Regions from separate parts of the Homo sapiens genome. Here region 2 is linked to region 1. Evidence: promoter capture Hi-C in 16 types of primary human blood cells and fetal thymus (Javierre and others, 2016). All regions are on one chromosome and are shown on one strand. Each heading gives the region's core, a stretch centred on a gene start or on the middle of the fragment in contact. The rest is flanking DNA. Distances are from core to core; before and after follow the strand shown.

Evidence for each region. The method cuts DNA at HindIII sites, captures the fragments that hold promoters and counts their contacts. A CHiCAGO score of 5 or more calls a contact.
Region 2: a contact is called between a fragment that was not itself captured here and the fragment with the promoter of TAF7 in region 1, in 1 of 17 cell types (naive CD8 T cells). The highest score is 5.1, in naive CD8 T cells.

The regions. Positions count from the first base shown.
Region 1 is chr5:141,317,683-141,322,856 of GRCh38, forward strand. TAF7 (TATA-box binding protein associated factor 7) reads right to left here and starts at 3,102. Exons shown (of 1, transcript NM_005642.3): 1 at 808-3,102. The coding sequence starts at 2,362. The coding sequence ends at 1,313. RefSeq lists enhancers at 2,631-2,830, 3,411-3,470, 3,481-3,630. The HindIII fragment of the contact is 5,333 bases long and covers 2,134-5,174 here.
Region 2 is chr5:163,506,508-163,512,073 of GRCh38, forward strand. MAT2B (methionine adenosyltransferase 2 non-catalytic beta subunit) reads left to right here. Exons shown (of 7, transcript NM_013283.5): 2 at 5,495-5,566. Among named protein-coding and RNA genes, the nearest start is that of MAT2B, 3.7 kb to the left of the region's middle. The HindIII fragment of the contact is 2,473 bases long and covers 406-2,878 here.

The DNA of each region.
Region 1 (5,174 bases), core at 1,852-4,351:
TAAAAATACACAAAAAAATTAGCTGGGCATGGTGGCGGGCACCTGAGTAGTCCCAGCTACTCAGGAGGCTGAGGCAGGAGAATGGTGTGAACCCAGGAGGCGGGGCTTGCAGTGAGCCGAGATGGTGCCACTGCACTCCAGCCTGGGTGACACAGCGAGACTCCGTCTCAAAAAAAAAAACTTTAAATATTTTCAAACCCAAGCTTCTCATAAACCAACCTGTCAAACAAATTGCATACAACTCTGCCTCTTTTATCAGTAACTGATTTTTCAAAAATAGCTTATGTTGTGAGGCATTAGATTATCTTTAGAGCATGAGAAATTTGGTACCAACTTCCTTTATGAGCAATTTTGATGAAATGACATTGATAAATGACCTCAGTTCTCAGAATATTAATTATAGGAACTCAACTGAAGAAAATTAGAAATATTAATCCAAACCAATGGAATGGTTCATTGGACTGCACTTGATAACCACTGCTTTGTTTCCAACATTTTATGCAGGTAGATTTAGCGCTTTTTAAAAAAGGCACAAAGGCCTTCATCTACAAAAATTAGGGTACTTTAAGAAAGCTCTGTATCTAATGTTTCCCAGCTTTCAAGTAGATCAAATAGAATTGGAATCTTAATATGATGCAAACATGACCATTCCCAATTTCTTTACCCCTGCTGTGTTCCTTTTTTTCATAAACCCTACTGCCTCTACCTGCAGAACGGGATCAAATTGCTTAGTCACTAAACTCCACCATAAAACCACCTCACAAGAGGACCTGACTCCCACCAACCATGAAAGAACAAGATACACTATAAAGTGAAAAACAGATGCTTTTATTTATTGTATTGGAAACAACTTAATAATTTGCATCTCTACATATAGAAAGCTGCTTTGAATAACTGGGAAAACAATTATTGCATAGGAAAACATATGCAAACTAGCATCATTGTCTCTAGACTAGGTTCTTCTTATTGATCTCACGTCATCACAAAGCAGCAACAGCAGCTTCTAGAAAATGGAGAAACAGTAAAGTCCTGCAATGAAGCTATAATTAAGGTTGAACCATACATTCCGCTAATCCTGCAACTTTCCTACAATCATTTTTCTGCCTATACAATCCTGCTTCTTATAGGATGAACACCTAGCAAAACAATATAAATTTGCTGAAAAACAAAATTACAAACAAATGAAAGAACTTAACAGAACACACAGCATTAAAAGGACTAGGAAGAGCAAGGTCTTAATACCCAGTACAATAAAGCCAAGAATTTTCTAATGCTGACCAGTCTGAAGACTGAAATTAAATATCAGTTCTTTTTACTTCTCTAGGAGTGATTCTAGCTCCTCTTGCAAAGAGCTGAGTTGCTCCTTTTCTCGGTCTTCCTTTTGTTTGAGCTCATCCAGTACAGCCTGAAATCTGTTCTTGAGAGCCAGATTTTCCACTTTCATGATGAGATCCTCTTGTCGTTTTGCCCTGTCCTGGGTCTCTTGGAGCTTGCCTTTCATGTTGTCAATCTGCTTCTGAATTCCCATAACCAGCTGATTGGTTCCTTCATTTTCCTGGTGCTGTTCATCTGATTCATTTAGCTTGTCCTGTAGCTGTCTCTCCAGATCTTCCTCCGTGTCAATGATGTTTATATCTTCTTCATCTTGATGCTGGGTCTCATCTTCATCCTCACTGCTGCTGCTGAGGTCATTGAATATCTCCCGAAGCTCATCATGTTCTAATGAGTCATGGCCCTGCCTGTGACCAGACATTCCTGGAGAAGAGATATCCAGGCCTTGATTTTCTGCCTCCTTTGTTTCATCTTCGGCAATTATTTCCCACCGAGTACTAACAGCTTCAGCATCTGTACTCAGCAATCGTTTCACTTCTTTTTCAACATCTGGAGATTCAATATATTTCTTCTTTGCTGTCTTCCGGAACCTTCTCTTCCTGACATTCTTTAGAGGCAGAGTAATTCCGTGGTTCCAGATAAACTTTTTCTCTTTGTCCTTATCCTTTTTCTTGCTTGCTTTAGGATCAGTGCTAGCAACTGGCTCCTCCACAGGAGGATAGAGATCACCATCAACTGTGGATACAAGCATCTGACAGATATCAGCTGTCTTGTAAAAAGTTTTTTTATCAATGGTTTTCAAGCTTTCCATAACACAGGGCAGGTCTACTAATTTTGAGGCCAATGGAACACGGTCCACTCTGACGATTCCATGACGCCCATCAGGATGTAACTCAATTGTCAGTCTGTCCTTGAGGTTGACATGACCAGACTGTACTGCCCTTCTCACAGTAGAGGCATATTCTGGAGGCAGACGTAAGATAAACTGGCTCTCCAGTTCGTGAGGAGCATCATCTTTGCTTTTACTCATCTTTATTTCCTTGTGATTCACTTCTCCAATAAATGCTGGTTACACTAAAAAGTTCCAGCTACTGCAATAGTTTAAAACACCAGTTTGCTATGAATTGAAATCTTTTAATTACAAGAAGTTCTCTGTAGATCAGCAGCTAAGCGTCTATTTTGCCTTAGTTTTTATTTAAGCTCCAAGTCTTTTCTCTAAATATGCTGTGACCGAATACCAGTCGTTAACACAAAGGCTTATTCACAGACTTAAGTTCATTAAATCAGATGCAATGCCAAGTCCCAACCTCTAGGTGCCGCTGCCGGACAACGCGGAGAGAGCTAGCTAGCTAGCTAGGGAACAGGAAAGCAAATGGCGGCTCCCCCGGAACGGTTTTCGGCCCAGAAAGCCCAGCAGAGATACTTTCAACTCACAAACTCTCCCGGAACAAAGACACTCAAAAAATCAGGGCTCAGCGAGCTCTCTTCGCCTCGGGTACTTACAATCCAGTGACGATTATAAGTTCAGTTTCACCGGGCCGGAGCGAAGGGAAGAGGAGGCCGCAAGGAGCCAAGCGGGAGAGAGCCGAGCGTCTCCTTGTCGTTTCCTTAATTCTTCCTGCCGCTTGGCAGAGTGATCCACTACCGATTACTGATGAAAGGGCCCGGGATGGGCAGCGCGAAATCTTGCCGAGAGGCGCAGCTCGCATCACCAGACCCCGCACCTCGCCGGCCCTCCGTCCGGGTCGCCTACCCAGCAAAAACGGAAGTGCTACGTCGCGACGCGGGGCGGGAGGCGGCTGTGAGTGACAGCCCCTCCGGGCGGAAGGGCGGAGCCCCAGCTAGCGCAGGCGCAATAGCGCAATTACGCTGCCCAGCGTGAAACTCATCTTTTCGCGAGAACTTGTTTTTCCGGGATGGAAATGACAGTGTTTCGGAAGAGCTGTTGGTTTCAAACTATTTAGAGCTTGGAAGTTCCAAGAAAGACACAGATTCGTCCCCCGCTAAGCCAGCACTTTTACGGGATCGCTGTGGGGCCGGATGGCTTCTAGACTTCCGGGTGATTCCGGGAGATGGGGGACGCCTTGCAGTAAGCGTCTTTGCTTCTGGAAACATCTCGGATGTTCCCTAGAGTCTAGCCTATCTGGTGCCAATACAAGAATGTGTAGCTACTATACAATGGATTTCAAAGTACCCAAATCAATGGAGTGAGGAGGACATGCAGCTTACTATATAAGTCTCTCTCTATATATATGTTTGTTTGTTTGTTTTGGAGATGGAGTCTCAGGCTGTCACCCAGGCTAGAGTGCAGTGGCACAATATTGGCTGACTGCAACCTCCACCTCTGGGGTTCAAGCGATTCTCCTGCTTCAGCCTCTTAAGTAGTTGGGATTACAGGCACGTTCCACTACCCCACCTAAGTTTTGTATTTTTAGTAGAGAAGGGGTTTCACCATGTTGGCCAGGCTGGTCTCGAACTCCTGACCTGAGGTGATCTGCCTGTCTTGGCCTCCCAAAGTACTAGGATTATAGGTGTGAGCCAGCGCGCATGGCCCAAAGTCTGTATTTTTAAATATAATTCCCTGTAGGGGAATTGTGCCTCTGGTTTTACTTGTGTTCTATAATACTTCTGGGGAAACAAGGGTGATTCCTTTTTATGTGCTTGATTTAGATGTAAATGTAAACAGAGAAGGAAGTGTTCTTTTGGACAGAATTGTCTGATAGACTGAGCATCTGGTTAAAGTAGATATAATTGAAGTATTGTTTCCTGTCTCTCATGTACAAGTAATTTTAAATTACTTTGACATTTTTTTTAACTCCACCTCTACTATTTTGCTGTTTTCTGCTTGTCTTTTCTATCAATAGTCAGGTATTCATCAACACATATTTTTAGTATTTTAACATAACTGGGTAACAGTTGGTACTTATTTCTATTTATTTCCATTTATTTTTAAAATATCTGGGAGAGCATCAAGGCCATTAATATTTCATTTCTATCCTCTAAAATATTAACAATTGCCCCTAAATTTAAGAGAATTCTCTTAAGATGTAATTAACATTTCCAAAATTCACTTTATTCTTGTATGATTGAAAGCTCCATGATAGTGATCTTCTTCTATCCTGGTCATTGTGTCCCAGTGCCTAGTACCAGAATGTGGGAGATACACAAAAAATATTTGCTAATTGAATGAAAAAACTTATCTGTCTAGAAAGATCATAGTCTCAAATCCTGTAGTGATTTCTGAGAGAAAATACATTCTTTGTCATTTTAAAATGAGATAGAGCCACTTTACATACATTTCCTTTCTAGTCAAGGACAATTCTAATTGTTATGAGGTGGGGAGGTTTACTAATAGTGTGTGTGAATGTGGTTTAGCTAGAATGAGATACTGTTGTGGGAGGAAATTAAAATGACCTGACGTTAGTTTGGTTTTTAATGTTAATTTTAAAAGAGAAAGTATGCCCTTCCAGATAACGGTAAATTATTTCTCTTTGCTTATAATGTGTTGAAGAATGTTAGCTGACTTACTTGTAATTTCCAGAATGATCTATTTCCTCTTTTTCAAAGATGAAGTTTTTTCTGTTACAGGCTTGAGCCACCTCGCCTGGCTGTGTTTTGTTTAACCATATACAATGTGAGGTCATTATACATGAAAATAATCCAAATATTACTCAGCATCTTCCCTATGAGTTTTATGATGCTCAAATATTCTTATCATAGAAGGTAACTTGAGATAAATTGTATGCAATTTTTCATTTTCCAAAATTACTGTGTATTTTAGTTTCTAAACCTTTCTTTACATGGAATATTGCCAGACATAGTTAAAAGGATTAACTGAGGTT
Region 2 (5,566 bases), core at 392-2,891, about 22 Mb after region 1:
ATATCCAACCCTGGGGATAAGAACACTACTAATGCCCAGACCATGTCTTTTGGAGAGAGTAGAGAATATAGGAGATGGCTGTTTCTGTTATTGCAAAGTTTTCATGCTTCCAAATTTACTTAGGGTTTTCAAATCACTTTGGTTCTTTGAGGGTAAAGTTAGGATAAATGGTCTATTAAACCTCTATGTTCCTAGGTCCTCCAGACCGTGCTGAGTGCATGTTACATACGTTTACATTTATATGTATGCATTTGTATGTGTACGTGTGCATATAAAGCTTAATCTACTTTCACAAAAAGAAGTTCAGTATAAAAATGAAAATAGCTTTTCGTGTTTTCCTTCATTAAAAATGAAACAACGAAGAGCTTGGCACAGACTTACTGCTCTCAAAACCTGTAGAATTAAAGCTTACTGACTCATGAGAACGAGAACTGTCTCATAGTTAACGTTAGAGAAGCATCCTGGAGTGGTTGTTGTTAGTAATACTGTCTGTGGAGCACAGTAGCGTCGCAGTAGAAGTTAGACCAATCCCACCTAAGTAGTCAGAGAATCTTAAAAAGTAAAGCCCAGTAATGTTTACCTTAAGGGTCTGTTTCTGGGGAATTAAAAAATTAAACATGGAACTGTGCCAAGTTTTAAAGTTTCCAAAAACGACAAGGTATTTACCACTGAAATTTGGGAAAACCACATACTAATAGTATTCCATTCTTTACTTTTCTAGAACATTTTTAGTAGACATTAATGCAGGTGTGCTAAAGTAGAAATCACTGTCCCAGAGTACTGTGTTGGACCATTTGGAAGGAGCCATGTATCTCCCATTACCTATACAATTTGGTATCATTCGATTAGATACGATAATAAGAATATTTATTTATATGTACTTAATTTTTCAAGAAATGTTTTTTTGGTGTCCATAAATCTGGTCCCTTGGAGTGATTGAATTCCGTACTTCAGAGTTTAGACAATAAGAGGCAGATACGTTTAGAGTAACTTAAACTGATATTAGATCTACTTTCCCCCATATAATAAAAATTGAGAAAAAGTAGACTTCAGGCAAAGTATTATCAACTCTTTATTGTGCCTTGAGTGAACTAGATAGCATTTTATTCTTTCATTCTGACTTTCTTAAAGTGTTTAGACATTTCTTCCTTGTGCACAACTAAAATAATTTATGGAGTGCAGGTCCAAAGTAGTTTTTAGAGGGATATTTCTTTTTCTAAAGAACGAACCAAAAAGCCTCAACAAAACAGTGTAAAAGGCAGAGTATTGCTTATATAGAAGCTCAAAAACAGAGATATTTGTTTGGCATATTTTAAATTTCGGAGTAATGCATATTCAGAGGAAAAGTTACCTTATTTAAGTAAACGAAACTATTCGGACTCCTCGTGGTAGGGATAATATGGAAAATGTTAGAAATATAGAACTTTAAAGCTGAAAGAGCCTTAGTCATTTTGTCTAAATGCCTTCCCCATTTACCAATGAGGAATTAGATCAATAGAGATAGAATAACTTCTAAACACCAATTTGTGGCAGAACAGATAAAACTTTAATCATTCATGAAACCAAATATTAGTTCACAGGATTGAGACAAAATGCAGTGTATTTGACTTGACCAGAGAAGCAAGACTCAGGTTCTGGTTCCAGCTTTTTCTCTTTTACTATAGACAAAACATTTAACACTGGACTTCTTGTTACTCTCTTTGGAAATAATATCTCTTCTAACAAGCTGCTGGGTTTTTTTGTTTTCTTTTTTTTCCTCTTGCTCTTTCACCCCGTCTGAAGTGCAGTGGCTCAATCTCTGCTCACTGCAACCTCTGCCTCCAGGGTTCAAGCGATTCTCCTGCCTCAGCCTCCCAAGTAGCTGAGATTATAGGCGCCCACCACCATGCCCGACTAGTTTTTCTATTTTTGGTAGAGACAGCGTTTCACCATGTTGGCCAGGCTGGTTTTGAACCCCTGACCTCAAGTGGTTGGTCCACCTTGGCCTCCCAAAGTGCTGGGATTACAGGCGTGAGCCCTGGCACCCGGCCTCAAACTGCTATTAAAAAAACAAAAACAGCTATGATTGTATACTTATATAACACGTTAGTTTTCTTTTTTTTGGTTTTTTTGTTTGTTTGTTTTTTTGAGATGAAGTCTAGCTCGTGTCCCCCAGGCTGGAGTGCAGTTGTGCGATCTCGGCTCACTACGACCTCCGCCTCCTGGGTTCGAGCGATTCTCCTGCCTCAGCCTCCCGAGTAGCTTAGATTACCTAAAATTACCTAGAAAAAAATATGAAACAGTGTACAGTACCCAGCAGTCAGGTGTCAGTGCTCAAGATTTTTATTAAGAGTGACGATCTGAAGTGCAAGCATTTACTGAAATGGAAATGATACTGCACAACATTTTATTTGAAAATTAACATGTTATAGGCCGGGCGTACTGGAGGCCTTACATAGTAACCCAGGGGTATAAGGATATAAAGTTGCATTTTCTCATACAACTCCACTTCCTTTTTTACGTTAAGGTATTATATTCCCTAAAGAGCCTTGTTCTTCTCTATACTTAATACTGCATCAACTCCAAGAAGCTCTTAATTAAAAGAAGATCATCTGGGCTCTTAAGTTGCATTAAGTTAGCAAAAACTACTGCAAAACTGTGACGATTCATAAGATTTTTTTTAAATTCATTTAACAGATGTTAAAATGAAACTGTACTTCACAGAGTCAGTGAAGTACACAGATCTTAATTCATTGTTTAGTAACTTTTGTGGATTGTATAATGCTTTGGCTTCTATTTCAAGTTTTCTTTTTTAAGGGGGAAAGATACTGTTGTCATTTTGAGAAAGGTAGATGGCACTTTTTGTTTTCCTTGTGTAAGAGAAACGGATTGTTATGAAAGCTTTGAACTTTCCTGGAGTTCGAGAGTACACTGGTCCTCTAAGTGCGGTCTCCAAATCACGATGATCAGCATCACTTGTTGGAACTTGTTGGGAATGCAAATTATCAAGCCCCACCCCAGACCTTTGTGATCTAAAAGCCCTCCAGGTGATTCTGATCCACACTGAAGCACGAGAACCACTGACCTTAGGAACTGTTACCTGTTCCTTTGCTTCCGTAGAGTGAAGTAAAAAGTGAGGAACTCAGAAGAAACCAAATTATCTCTCTTTTAGAGTATTTTTTCAGGAATCTTTACCGTATTTATCCTGTGTAAATTGTTTTCTCTGACTGTATCTGTACTAGACTTGGCATGTTTTCTCCTCTTTACAGTTCAATCTTTGTAGAGCTGTTTTCTTGCCAAATTTCAAAGAAAATATTTTGTTGGCTGAAATCCTTGTTTTCATAGATCAGTTGGTTTAGAGCCAAGTTTTGCAACACAGCCTGAATGAAATTGCTTTCAACTTTTAAAATGTCTTGAAATTGGTTGAACTAAGGAAAAATAATCCTAAGAATTTACCTTTATACTATCTTTCCCTGTTAGTCTTTTCATTTTACGTTTTTGATTGCTAGAAATACTTGATTTTGGTGTCTTTTAAAAAAAAATGTATGTATTCGGCTAAGTAATTTAATTGAGCTAAGGGCTTTAAAAGGTCTTTGGTTATTGTATATGTATTTAAAGATTTTGACAGCCCAGAATTAGGTGATTATAACAACTCTTGAGTTAAAATAACTGGTTTGTTTTTAATAGTAAAAGTTGACTTTATTCAAGATCCTGGTTGGAAACTTGGTGTTACCCATCTTGGGAAGAAGGGACATTTTTGGAACTATGCTTGGAAACATAGAATTTAAATTTTTTCCTAAATAGTGGTTCTTTTTCATTTCTGTGTGTAATAATTTATTTGTTTCACAGTAGCAACACAGATGAGCTTAAAATATTTTTTCTTATCCTTTGCGTTTATTAGTTTTAGCTTTTTTTTTTTTTTTTTTGAGATGTAGTCTTGCTCTTGTTACCCAGGCTGGAGTGCAGTGGTGCCATCTTGGCTCATTGCAACCTCCGCCTCCTGGGTTCAAGCAATTCTCCCGCCTCGCCTCCCGAGTAGCTGGGATTACAGGCACCTGCAACCACGCCTGGCTAATTTTTTTGTATTTTTAGAAGAGATGGGGTTTCACCATGTTGGCCAGGCTGGTCTTGAACTCCTGACCTCAGGTGATCTGCCCAGCTTGGCCTCCCAAAGTGCTGCGATTACAGGCATGAACCACTGCACCTGGCCAATTTTAACTCTTCTATGTAGGTAAATTTTGGGTTAACTAAGGAACATTTACCAATTTGGTTAAACTTAGAAAGCATTTAAGTGTTGTAAGGACCAAGTTTTTTTTCCTCCTCGTATATTCCTTTGAAATGTTGATTAATTCTCTACCTTGGGTCCATCAAAATATGATAAATTATTGAGACTTGAAAGAACATTTGGGATTAAAATCTGAAGACCAGAAATGTCAGCTTGTAAATATATTGGCAGATTTGACGCAAATACTAATCAGGCCTTAAAATAGGTAAACTTAAAACACGTTTCTCTCTAGAGACTCAAAGAGCACCTTCAGTCGTATCTATAGAAGCAAGACAAATTGTAAAGTCTTATAAACTGAAGAATGTAATGTTGTTATTTACTATTTAGGTACTTGGAGCAAAAGTATAAAAAAAGTTGCTGTTTACTAACTCATTTGGGTATTATCAATCATAAAAATAGGATTTTCTGTTAACATAGGAAATATAAATCTACATAATTCCTTGCATATCATCTTGTGTTCCTTTCCTTGGGTAAGATTATTATAACTTTTTTAATTAAAAAAATTTTTTTTTTGAAACAGGGTCTCACTCTGTCCCCCAGACTGGAGTGCATGTCATGATCTCTGCTTATTACAGCCTTGGCCTCCCAGGCTCGTGATCCTCCCACCCCAGCCTCCCAAGTAGCTAGGACTACAGGCATGCACCACCTGTAGCTCAGCTAATTTTTGCTTTTTTTTTTTTTTTTTTTTTTTTGGAAGGACGGGTTTTCACCATGTTGCCTAGGCTGGTCTCGAACTCCTGGGCTCAAGTGATCCACCTGCCTTGGCCTCGCAAAGTGCTGGGATTAAAGGCATGGGCCACCATGCCTGGCAAAAGCTTTTTCTTAAGTGATACAGTTTTTTATATGGTTTGATTAATCATTGTTCTAACTTTATTTATTACATTTTTAAGTTGTGTTTTCTGCTTTTTTTATTTTAAAAATTTATTTTTATAAATACAAAGTATATTTTTACTGTTTTTTTGTATTGAGATGGGTCTCATTATGTTACCCAGGCTGGTCTCAAGTTCCTGGGCTCAGCGGAGCTGCCTGCCTCGCATTCCCAAAGTGTTGGAATTACAGGCATGAGCCTGATGCCCGACCCTAACTTAACTTTAGAATTGGCTTGCAGATATGGGACATGAGTCAAAATACGTAGAATTAAGACATTTAGGGAACAACGATGGTGCCTAATATATTTGAGAGAACTGTTTTCAAAGTTAGTAACTCTTTCTATCCGCCTTCACCTTTTAGGAGGAAGTTAACATCCCTAATAGGAGGGTTCTGGTTACTGGTGCCACTGGGCTTCTTGGCAGAGCTGTACAC